Regions from separate parts of the Homo sapiens genome. Here all the other regions are linked to region 2. Evidence: promoter capture Hi-C in human tissues and cell types (Jung and others, 2019). All regions are on one chromosome and are shown on one strand. The core of a region is centred on a gene start or on the middle of the fragment in contact, and the rest is flanking DNA. Distances in the headings are between cores, read along the strand shown. Region 1 holds the start of SSU72 (SSU72 homolog, RNA polymerase II CTD phosphatase). Region 2 holds the start of ACAP3 (ArfGAP with coiled-coil, ankyrin repeat and PH domains 3). Region 3 has its middle 20 kb from the start of LINC02593.

Evidence for each region. The method cuts DNA at HindIII sites, captures the fragments that hold promoters and counts their contacts. A contact is called where the count stands out against the background at its distance.
Region 1: the fragment with the promoter of SSU72 here is called in contact with the fragment with the promoter of ACAP3 in region 2 in 1 of the 25 tissues and cell types used here (dorsolateral prefrontal cortex).
Region 3: a contact is called between a fragment that was not itself captured here and the fragment with the promoter of ACAP3 in region 2, in 1 of the 25 tissues and cell types used here (lymphoblastoid cells).

Annotation. Positions count from the first base shown.
Region 1 is chr1:1,572,698-1,576,504 of GRCh38, forward strand. SSU72 (SSU72 homolog, RNA polymerase II CTD phosphatase) reads right to left here and starts at 2,166. Exons shown (of 5, transcript NM_014188.3): 1 at 1,781-2,166. The coding sequence starts at 1,860. SSU72-AS1 (SSU72 antisense RNA 1) reads left to right here and starts at 2,250. Exons shown (of 1, transcript NR_197593.1): 1 at 2,250-3,807. RefSeq lists silencers at 1,650-1,729, 1,970-2,129, 3,789-3,807 and enhancers at 2,250-2,359, 2,370-2,439. The HindIII fragment of the contact is 14,967 bases long and covers 1-3,807 here.
Region 2 is chr1:1,305,701-1,309,396 of GRCh38, forward strand. ACAP3 (ArfGAP with coiled-coil, ankyrin repeat and PH domains 3) reads right to left here and starts at 2,230. Exons shown (of 24, transcript NM_030649.3): 1 at 2,069-2,230. The coding sequence starts at 2,115. It overlaps PUSL1 (pseudouridine synthase like 1), which reads left to right and starts at 2,897. Exons shown (of 8, transcript NM_153339.3): 1 at 2,897-3,020; 2 at 3,215-3,272; 3 at 3,386-3,573. The coding sequence starts at 2,944. RefSeq lists silencers at 1,779-1,998, 2,049-2,218, 2,259-2,938, 3,159-3,228, 3,259-3,398 and 2 more. The HindIII fragment of the contact is 50,978 bases long and covers 1-3,696 here.
Region 3 is chr1:897,854-901,748 of GRCh38, forward strand. No RefSeq gene overlaps it. Among named protein-coding and RNA genes, the nearest start is that of LINC02593, 20 kb to the right of the region's middle. RefSeq lists a silencer at 115-275. The HindIII fragment of the contact is 9,929 bases long and covers 1-3,895 here.

The sequences.
Region 1 (3,807 bases), core at 916-3,415, 270 kb after region 2:
CCGCCCATCTCGGCCTCCCAAGGTGCTAGGATTACAGGTGTGAGCCACTGCGCCCGGCCTACTCCATCTTTGTTATGCAGGTACAGCAGAAAATCTTGAACAAAGGATCACCAAGGAGAACCAGCAGAACCAGAAGGTCTCCAGCCCATTTGTTATTCCAATTAACAATAATTTTGTCTTGGGGGGGGGGGGGTGAGCCTTGCATTGTTTTGCTTAAATGTATCAAATTTTTACAGGTAACTGCAGTTTATAAATGAAGATCCAGCACAATGTAATTCTAGCACATTTCTAGTTTTAAAAACAACCTTTGGCCGGATGCGGTGGCTGACGCCTGTAATCCCAGCACTTTGGGAGGCCGAGGCGGGCAGATCACCTGAGGTCAGGAGTTTGAGATTAGCCTGGCCAGCATGGTGAAGCTCCGTCTCTACTAAAAATACAAAAAAAGCCGGGCGCAGTGGCTCACGCCTGTAATCCCAGCACTTTGGGAGGCCGAGCGGGCAGATCACGAGGTCATAAGATCAAGACCATCCTGGCTAAGATGATGAAACTCCGTCTCTACTAAAAATACAAAAAAAAAAAAAAATTAGCCGTGCCTGGTGGCCGGTGCCTGTAGTCCCAGCTACTCGGGAGGCTGAGGCAGGAGAATAGCTCGATCTCGGGAGGCACAAGTTGCAGTGAGCCGAGATCGCGCTACTGCACTCCAGTTTGGGCGACAGAGCAAGACTCTGTCTCAAAAAAAAAAAAAAAAAAAAAAAAAAAGAAAGAAAAGAATAAAGAGAAAGAATCAGCAGATCATGAACACTTGACACTGATTTTTGGGGGGTGTTTTTTGGTCTCCAACTCCTGACTTCAGGTGATCCGCGTGCGTCGGCCTCCCAAAGTGCGGGGACTACACGCGTGAGCCACCGTGCCTGGCCCACGTGACACTGTTAAAAACGGAAAAAAAAGGGGGACTGTTAATTTTCCCAAGTTGCTCAGGAAAGTTATAGCTGGACTGCGAGAAGAGAAGCGAAACACTGTTTTCATTTAAAGTTCACGTAGGTAACTTTGGAGGTAAAAAAGCCATTTCAACTTTCTTACTATCAAAGTTGACACATACCAAATTTTAACTGTAAGTCAAGTGGTCAGTTTCTCAGTTTGCTATGTGACTGAACAAAAAACTTGTTATCAAGCAGGAATAAACTTTCATTAGACATACGCTACGCAAGAGTCACAGGCGGCCAGTTAGCAGGGAATATAAACTAGCAGAGCCAAACCAAGTCCACGTTGTATTCCAGAAACTACCGGTTGGAGGCGTTCCAGGGAGGAAGAGAGGATCTTTCGCAAAAAAAAAAAAAGAAGAAGAAGTAGCAAACACACAAATCCATGGCATTAAAAAAAGAGACCGCTTTGTTATTTACAACATCGTGGTATGCCGTGATTGTGTTGCGCGCCGTTTCCAGGGAAGGTGGCCAACGACGCACACGAAATACCATGATCGGCCGCCGCCGCGCAGCCCCTCGCCGCGGACGCTACCCTCGCCCCCCGGGCCCGGCCTCGGAGAGCTCGAAGGACCACCGGACAGCGGGCGCCTCGTCCCGGAACCTGCCTTCCCTGTGATGCCCACCCGCGTGTGGACTACGCGCGCTGCCGTCCAGCTGCCATCCCAACCAGCCGACCCACGAGCGCGGCCCGGCCCGGCTTCCTCTCAGGGGTCCTGGCGCGGGCCAGGGGGAACCGGGGAGGAGGGAGGGCCGGTCGCCGGAGCAGAGCGCGCGGGGACAGGGTGGAGCCCAACTACCTGAGGATGTTGTGCGCCTCCATGCTCCGGTTCTGGTTGCTCGAGCACACCACCGCCACCCGCAGCGGGGACGACGGCATGGCGGCGGCCGCAAATCCCGCGGCTCTCCCGCTTGGGTTCCCACCCTACCGCGGCGCTTCCGCGCGAACAAAATGGCGGCCGCGGTGGCCGGAAGCGGGCGACGCGAAACGACGGCGCCGGCGGTGTAGCGTGCGGCGACTGCGCGGCGGCCTCCCCGCCCACCCTGGGCGCCGGGCCGCGGACGGAGCGCAGGCACTGGCCTTCGGGCGCGCTGCACTCGGCGAGGCCGGGGGCGGCCAACGCCGCGCCGGCCCCCGGCGTCCGCAGCAGAGACCCGCACTCCACAAGGCCCGGCTGAGCGTCACGGCGCCAAGCGGCGGCGTCCTGACATCAGCACCCCGCGCCGGCGCCTAGTGTGACGCGACGACGTGCGGAACAACAGGACGTCATAAGGTGTCGCCGCCGCCTTTGGGAGCGATGCGAAACGCCGCGCTTGCCGGAGATAGCATTGAGGGCCCTTCCGCGGCCCGGCGTTTCGTCTCTTGGGACGATTTTGTGCGTTCCCTCGGTCCCCGTGGGGCCCATAGTCCTCACTTCTGCCACCCCAGAGTCGTCGCGCTTCACTAGACCCGCTCCCTCCACTGTCCCGGAGGCCCACAGACATTCCCGCATTCTGAGGCTCGCTCCCGTCCCGTGCCGCTGTTACCGGCCTCCGGCCCCGGCTCATACAAGCAGGAGCACATCGCTCTTTTATGAAAGCCCTTCAACATTTAACGTTTAAATGCGAGGGCCGACCTGTGACAGACCTGGTTGGGAGTGCACGTCGACTAGGATCTTCCTCGCCTCGGGCTTCCTTGGAGAGGCCGCCGGCTGGTCTGAGATTTGGGTCCAGTTACAGTAAATCCAGTCAACGCGAGTGTGTCATTCCCCAGCTATGCCTGTCTGCCTGGATGCAGCCTCGCGGTGGACAGTGGGCTGATGTTTTGCCGTGGGAGCGCCACGGACGGGAGAGGGAGTGATAATGATTGTCAACCTAATAACAGGCTAACTGAAAATGATATTTATTTGGGAATAGGGCGTTGGCGAATATGCGTGCCATAGTAAACGATTTGCGCATTCAGGAAAGTAATGGTTTTTAAAGAAAAAATGAAGAGGAAGATAATGGTTTGGAAATAATTAACCTTGGCTACAAAGAACAGTAACAAGTGTACTCCCGGCCGGGCGCGGTGGCTCACGCCTGTAATCCCAGCACTTTGGGAGGCCGAGGCGGGCGGATCACGAGGTCGGGAGATCCAGACCGTCCTGCCTAACCCGGTGAAACCCCGTCTCTACTAAAAATACAAAAAATTAGCCGGGCGTGGTGGCGGGCGCCTGTAGTCCCAGCTACTCGGGAGGCTGAGGCAGGAGAATGGCGTGAACCCGGGAGGCGGAGCTTGTAGTGAGCCGAGATCGCGCCACTGCCCTCCAGCCTGGGCGACAGAGCCAGACTCCGTCTAAAAAAAAAAAAAAACAAGTGTACTCCCGTTCCAGGGTTGGACAGGCAGTTGCTGGGCAGCTGTCCTTGCTGAAGTATTTTTTGTGTAAGATTGCCTTAGTGCAAGGTTGTGGTTTTTGCAGAATCTTGTGATAGTTTTTCTTATTATTGATTCATGAGAATTCTCCATGGCCTTTCCCAGCTGTCTTTGTCAAGGTATTTTTTAAACATAAGTGAGTCCACTTTTATTTGACAACTTGGGTATTTTCCCCTTTTGATTGAGATCTTTCTCCAAATGCATCACTAATGAGTCATCCTGTAATTAGGTTTTGATAGTCCCCGTGCTGGGATGAACTTGTCCCAGATAGCTGGTCTGGTCCCACACTGGAGAGAGTGGCTGCTGGGAGTCATTGTCAAAACCCTTTTTTACCATATTTGAGCATCAAAGGAGGTTTGAAGGGTGTGGCTCTCAGGCTAAGTCTAACCTGGAGTCCATTATTAACTTCAACTTTTGTCACTTCTGTAGTCTTTC
Region 2 (3,696 bases), core at 980-3,479:
GGAGGACGGGGAGGAGGGTGAGGCTGCCCCCCAACCAAAGCCATGACTCAGCGCCTGAAGCCCCACCCAGGGGAGGGGCACACTGAACAGAGGCCAGGCGGTTCCCCTACACGGGCTCCCCTGGCCTCCGGCCCACTGCACCTGGGCTGCCACTAGGCCCTCCCCAGACCAGGAGGGTGCGGGCAGGGTCCCCCTCTCCCGGGCTGGGGCGACCAGGCTCCACGTTACAGACCACATCTTCCCGCCCACCCTGCCTGGCCCCCCAACCTGGCGGTAGGCCAGGAAACTCAAGTTACGCCCTTAGGGCCTGCCCCCAGGACAGCCTCAGGGAGCCCCTCGAACCCCAGTTAAATCACAGCCTAACCCCAAAACCCACTGGGCCAGGCCATTCTCATCTCCCCACTCCAGTCCATGCCCCACAGGGGTGAGGCACTTTCCCAGGGCAGTCACTCTACGGCACCTACTGCAGCCCCACAGCCCCCATAACTGGCTCCTGTAACAGGCTCCCATGAGAGCCGGTTACCAGAGAGAAGGCCCAGAGGTGAGTGGGTTCCAGCACCCCCACACGACTGGAAGAGGGCAGTACAGGGCCGTCTGCGTGGAGGAGGAGGTCCATTAGGCTTCTGACGGAGGGGCCAGGGAGAAGGTGGGTGCTTCAGCCAGGGTCCAGCCCCCAGCAGGGAGGCCATGCCCACACCTCCCCACAGCCCGGGTCCTCAATGCAGGATCCTAGGGTGCTCAAGTTATTCAACCCCTTTTCCCAGGTCAGCAACAGAAGATGGGAGAGCAGAGGATGGCCCCAGTTCCTCTGCCCAGGGCTGGCGGCCACTCTCCTGGCTGGCCCTGAGCCTCCCACTCCAAGGCTCCTGAGCCTCCTGGTGAGGGCTCCAGGGATACAGAGGCTCCCCGTGCCTCCACACACATGCTGACTTGCCAGCAGATCCCAAGAGACCCAGCGCGCGCGTGCACACCCACACATACACAATCAAGCACACATGTGCAAACATGTTCATGCACAAACATGCCTGCACACACTGGTACCACACATACATGTGTGTTCAAGGAGACACTGCACAGACACGCATCAACATGTGTACCTAGTGATGGAACACGCGTGTACAAGGTGATGTGTCTATTGCTGACATGGCTAACACAGTACGTGAACCCACACAGACAGGTGGTGTGTGCACACGCTTGCGTGCACTCATCGGCAGGCTACATGCAGAAGCAAGCACAGCCCCGTGGCACAGCTCATCCACACGTCCTGTGCAAGGCCTGGTGTCCGGAGGGAGGCACGCAGAGGGGCAAAGTTCACAAGAGCGCACCCCGCACGAGCTCGTGCAGAGGAGGGGGCCTCACGCAGGTGCGCACTTGGGGATGCAGAGAGGTTTCTTTGCCTCCATTGTCGTTTGCCAAATGTCCACCAAGCAAAGCCGATGCACACTTGTGCACACGTCTGTGAACATGTAGTTCACGCAGGTGTACACGCCTGCACGCCACGAATGATGGAAAACATGCAGACTCGGTGTGCACACAACCCCTACCCCCTACCTGACCTTCCCCGCCGCTCTTCTCGGCCGCCACCCCTCCAAGCCCCTGGGTCATTCAAACCACTTCACGTTTCCAAGCACCCTACCCCAGGCCTTAAACGCGGCTCCAGCTGCCTGTTCCCCACGCGCTGCTCTGGACACAGGATCAAGTCAGAGACCAGGGGCCGACGCCCCCACGGACCCAGACGACCCTGGCCAGAGCTGGACTGCAGGGCCCGGGAGGGGCTCAGCCCAGTGGAGGTGCAGACACAGAGCGGGGGCGGACGGTCCCGAGGTGCCCACGGCTGCCCACGCGCACGCCCTCCACCCGGGGCGGCCGCACAGGGCAGGAGCGTCTTTTGTTCCAACCCCCGGGGCATGGCGGGGCGGGGCCGCCGCTTTGTCCGAGGCCGGTCCTCCAGCCCCTCCCCGGCGGCCGCGGCCCGGCCCGGCGCTGACCTCCCCACCCCGCCGCCGGGCACAAAGGCGACAGCGACGCCCCCGGCCTGCGCCCACCCCGGCGGCCCCGGGCGGCGCACCTGAAGCGCGGGGAGTCCTTGACGCACTCCTCGAACTCCACGGTCATGGCTGCGGCGGCCGCGGCGCTCACTGGCACGAGGACCGCGGCGCCGAGCGGCAGCCGCGCCGGCCCGGACCGCTCGTCCCGCCCGCGCCGCCTCGGCGCCCGCCCGCCCCGGAATGAGGCCGCCGCGCCGCGCCCCGCCCCGCCTGTCACCGCCGGGGAGCGTCGCCAAAGTCAGCCGCCCGCGCGCACCGCCCGCTGTCACTGCCGGGGAGCGTCGCCAAGGTCCGCCGCCCGCGCGCGCCGCCCGCTGTCACCGCCGGGGAGCGTCGCCAAACGCCTCTCGCAGCGTCCAGGGACCACCCCGGTCCGGAAGTGAGGCGGGGCCTGCCACGGCCGTCTCCGGGGACAGTCGGTGGAAATGTGGGGCGCGGGGAGGGCGCGGGGAGGGCGCGGGCCCGCCCGCTCCAACCATCCCGGCCGTTGCGCAACTCAGGGCGTTTGCAAAAACCACGTCTGGGAGGACTTGGCCGCAACGCGGCGAACGGGCGCGCTCGGGGAGTGTGGGCGGCGGCGAATGAATGAGCGAGTGAACGAATGCACGCCCGCGAGAGCGCGGGGTGACCGCGTGGTTGGTGCGCGCCTCCCGGGGCGCCGCGATAGAGGTAGAGCGCCTGCGCTCGGCGGCGGGCCGGCACTTTGCAGCCGCTCCCTAAGCCCGGCCCCGCCTCCGCTCCCCGACTCTGGCCGCCGTGGCGCGGTGCCACCGCGCAGGCGCAAGAGCGGCCGGGGCCGGGGGGGAGGGGGGGGGGGCGTGACCAGGCCGCGTCCGCGCGCGCGCAGGATTCCTGCGCTGGAGGCCGCCTCTGACGCCACCGGCTGGGCTCCGCCATGAGTTCGGCGCCGGCCTCAGGCTCCGTGCGCGCGCGCTATCTTGTGTACTTCCAGTACGTGGGCACCGACTTTAAGTAGGTTTCCCAGGCGCAGCGGCGGGCGCCACGTGGGCCCGGGCGGAGGCGGGAAGGAGGGCGCGGGCGGGCAGGCGGATGTCTCTGGACGCGGGTTCCAAACGTTCGGGGAAGGAAGCGGCCCTGGCCTCAGACGGCGGCGGAGACCCCAGGGCAGGGCGCCCCCGGTAACCTCCGCCCGCTTCTGCCCGCAGCGGGGTCGCGGCCGTCAGGGGCACTCAGCGCGCCGTCGGGGTCCAGAACTACCTGGAGGTGCGCTCAGCCGGTCACGGGACGCCCGGTGAGGGGTAAGGGGGAGGCTCCCGCCCGCGCGTCCCCGGGGTCCGGCCTCGCTCACCCGCCCGCCCCGCGGCTCGGTCCTGCAGGAGGCCGCCGAGCGGCTGAATTCCGTGGAGCCGGTCAGGTTCACCATCTCCAGCCGCACGGACGCCGGGGTCCACGCCCTGAGCAACGCGGCGCACCTGGACGTCCAGCGCCGCTCAGGCCGGCCGCCCTTCCCGCCCGAGGTCCTGGCCGAGGCCCTCAACACACACCTGCGGCACCCGGCCATCAGGTGAGCCCGCGACCTAAGCAGCCCTGGGGCTGTGCCTTCCCGACTCCATCTGTCGCGGGCGGAGGCTGGAGATCTGGACAGACTTCCTTGTCTGGTCGGAGCTCGAGGGGGAAGGAGAGCCAA
Region 3 (3,895 bases), core at 586-3,085, 410 kb before region 2:
ATTTTCTTCAAAATAATAATGAGGGGGTGCAGAAGGGTAGGGATGAACCTCTCCCTCCTTTGCCGCTTCAGCTTTAGCTGGCAAACAAACCTGGTCTGTAACCTCTTCTGTTACGTCGCTATACTCTCCTTCCTCCTCCTCATCAGTGTGAAAAGGTTCCAAGGTGAAACGAACCAGACCCCACGCCTGTCCCATTGTTACCCTGATGCTTCCGAGCTCCCCTTCTTACTCACCACGGGGATGGCTTTAAGAGTACTCAGGTGTCCTCCAGCTAGTTCCACGTTCTCCAACCGTCGCTCTGGCGACCCTTCGACCTGGATTCGAGCCCCCACGATGGACGCCACTTGCAGAGACCAGCTCGGTCAGGAAGACCCTAACCCAGCGGCACTAGAGGAATTAAAGACACATACACAGAAATACAGAGGTGTGAAGTGGGAAATCAGGGGTCTCACAGCCTTCAGAGCTGACAGCCCCGAACAGAGATTTACCCACATATTTAGTAACAGCAAACCAGTCATTAGCATTGTTTCTATTAACTAAAAGTATCCCTTACGGGAAATGAAGGGATGGGCCGGAATAAAGGGGTGGGTTTGGCTAGTTATCTGCAGCAGGAGCATGCCCTGATGGCACAGATCGCTCATGCTATGTTTGTGGTTTGAGAACGTCTTTCAGCGGTTTTCCACCCTGGGCGGGTCAGGTGTTCCTTGCCCTCATTCCGGTAAACCCACAACCTTCCAGCGTGGGCGTTAGGGCCATTATGAACATGTCACAGTGCTGCAGAGATTTTGTTTATGGCCAGTTTTGTGGCCAGTTTATGGCCAGATTTTGGGGGGCCTGTTCCCAACAGTAACCAATATTAAGTCATTCTCATTTCAACATTTAAACTCTTCCAACTGAATGCATTAAAAAACAAAAGTCACACACCACTGTACCCCTTATATGTACACAGCGGTCGGCAAACATGTGACAGGTGGAGGTCCTGAGGCACCACTGGGAGCTTGTGAGCGGATGGGCGTCTTCCAGAACGCACTCTGCAGGCACTCGGCAACGTGAAGTGTTCACGTCCTGTGATGCAGCCTCTGCTCCAGGCCACTTCCGGAACTGCGAGGGAACAGCTGTGGGCGCGCTCATTTCAGCTTTGCTTCAGATCCTGGGAGTTGGGGGCACCTTCTTTTTTTTTTTTTTTTTTTTTAGACGGAGTCTTGCTCTGTCACCCAGGCTGGAGTGCAGTGGCGCGATCTCGGCTCACTGCAAGCTCCGCCTCCCGGGTTCACGCCATTCTCCTGCCTCAGCCTCCCGAGTAGCTGGGACTACAGGCGCCCGCCACCGTGCCTGGCTAATTTTTTGTATTTTTAGTACAGACGGGGTTTCACCATGTTAGCCAGGATGGTCTCGATCTCCTGACCTCGTGATCCGCCCATCTCGGCCTCCCATAAAGTGCTGGGATTACAGGCATGAGCCACCGCGCCCGGCTGGGGGCACCTTCTGGCCCACAGTGAGGGAATAAGCAAACCAGAATGGGGGGTGCCTGCACGGAATACTCCTAAGTGCTCAGACACGGCGTCCACAGATGGATCCAAATCAGTGCTGGATGACGGGCACTCACCCCAGGTCTGCAGTCCAATAACACGGGCCTGAGCAGAAAGCACGTGGCATGGAGCCCCGTGGCAGATATGGGGACGAGCGGCCAATACATCAGCTCAGGTGTCCGAGGGGTTTCAGGGACATGAGAGAGAGTGGGGAACGAAGGGGGAAATCGCTTGGAGACCCAGGACGAGCCTGGCACACCAGGATGCTGATTCTGAAAGGGCGATTAAGGAGATTCCATGTTTTAAAAATCTGGATTTCTGGCTTCTTCTGAAAAAAATCAGAAGATGTTTAGCACAACAGCGTGGCATCGTCAGCTGTACTCCTGCCCCACTGTCCCCCAGGGAGCCTGGCTCATCCCATGGCTCACAGAGGCCCACACTGTGGCCAGACAGGTCCACTGATGGCTCAGCACGTGCACCCCGGCTGCAGGGAGATGGGTACCAGCCCAGGAAGTGGGACACTGGCTGAAACAGGATGGGATGCAGGGATGGGGTGGGATGGGAGACCAAACCAGTGTGAGGAATGAGGATAAAGGAGATGCTGGAGATAAAATCTGGGCAAGTAAGCAGGGGGTGGTCCTGCTGGCTGAGGCCAGAGATGCCAGCCCACTCAGACTCCTGCGCTGGCCCTTCCACACCATCCCAGGCCCAAGGCCTCCCACACACAGCGTCACATACACAAACAGCACCCTCCTCATGGCAACAGGTGACCCTGCCCCTTCACAGACCTCCCTGCCCCCACAGTCACCCCACATTTTAAAGGGAACTTGAGTCCATCCTGATATGTAAACGTGAGGTTAAATATCTATCATGGGGGAGAACAGACAAATCTCCAGTGCAGAATAGTTCTAAATAACCTAAGTGGAGGCTCCACTCTTGAGGAGATCCAGCCTAACTCCCCACCTCTCCAACGCGGCTCATCGCAGCGACCTCCTTCTTCCAACGTGGCTCATCGCAGTGACCTCCTTCTCAGGAGTGCAGAGTGGAGGTCAGTGGTGGAGTGAAGACGGACCAGGGTTAACATCGGCAGTGATCACTTGACCTCTGCACACTTGACTCTGGGTCTTTCTCCCCAAAAAAAACCAGAACCTCAGTATAATCGTGAGGAAAATAGACAAATCCTAATTGAGGGACATTCTCCAAAATACCTGACTGGCCCTCCTCAAAACTGCCAAGGTCATGGAAAAAGGAAAGTCTGAAAAACTCACAGTTTAGGAACCTAAAGAGACTTGATTACTAAATGGAATATATCCTGGGATCCTGGAAAAGAAAAGGACATTATGTAAAAACTAAGAAAACCTGAATAAAATGTGGCCTTTAGTTAATAAGAATCCATCAATATTGGTGCATTCGTTGTAACAAGTAGTTGTAACAAGTGCCACGCTAATGTAACACGTTAGTACCAGCGTAACTGGGTGCCAGGCGTTTGTAAACTCTGTTCCGTCTTCTCAATTGTTTTGTGAATCTAAAACCGTTCTTTAAAAAGAGTTTATTTAGTAGGCTGGGCATGGTGGCTCACACCTGCAATCCCAGCACTTGGGAAGGCCAAGACTGGTGGATCACTTGAGCTCAGGAGTTGGAGACATGCCTAGGTAACATGGCAAAACCCCATCTCTACTAAAAATACAAAAATTAGCCAGGTGTGGTGGCGCACACCTGTAGTCGCAGCCACTTGGGAGGTTGAGGTGGGAGGATCGCTGGAGCCTCGGAGGTCGAGGTGGTAGTGAGCCAAGATTGCACCACTGCACTCCAGCCCGGGCAACCAGAGTGAAACGCTGTGTCCAAAAAATAAAAAAAGAGTGTATGTAAAGTGAAAACAGAGAGAGTACAAGAAAAGAGGGAAACCAGGGGCTCAGTGGAGGTGGGCAGGGGCTGGTCCATGTGCATTCAGCCCACCTGGTTGGCAGCTGCCCAGGTGTCTCCTCAGGTGTCGGAACAGGAGTTTCTTCCACAGCCTTCAGTTTGCTCAGGTGGGCATGTGGCGATGGCAGACCCTTGGGCTGTGAGAAACTATGTTGCTGTTTTATCCAAGTCTTCACAGACCAAAGACGGGGCTTTGCCCAGAGGAGGCCTTGAGAAGCCAGGCTGGAGTTTGTGGAGAGAGTGTGTGTCACTCACAGGACATATGACGCATTTGCAACATGCGTTCTCAAAGTGGGAGCCACAGCAGTGTTCGTTTTACTATTGCTGGGCCTGTAAATGGAGCGTTTTATCTTTTTCGTCAGCTGGTTCATTGAACAAGTGTTTACAGAGCACCTGCTAGGCAAATCCATCGTGACAGAGACTCGGTGTGCCCCCAAGGAGCT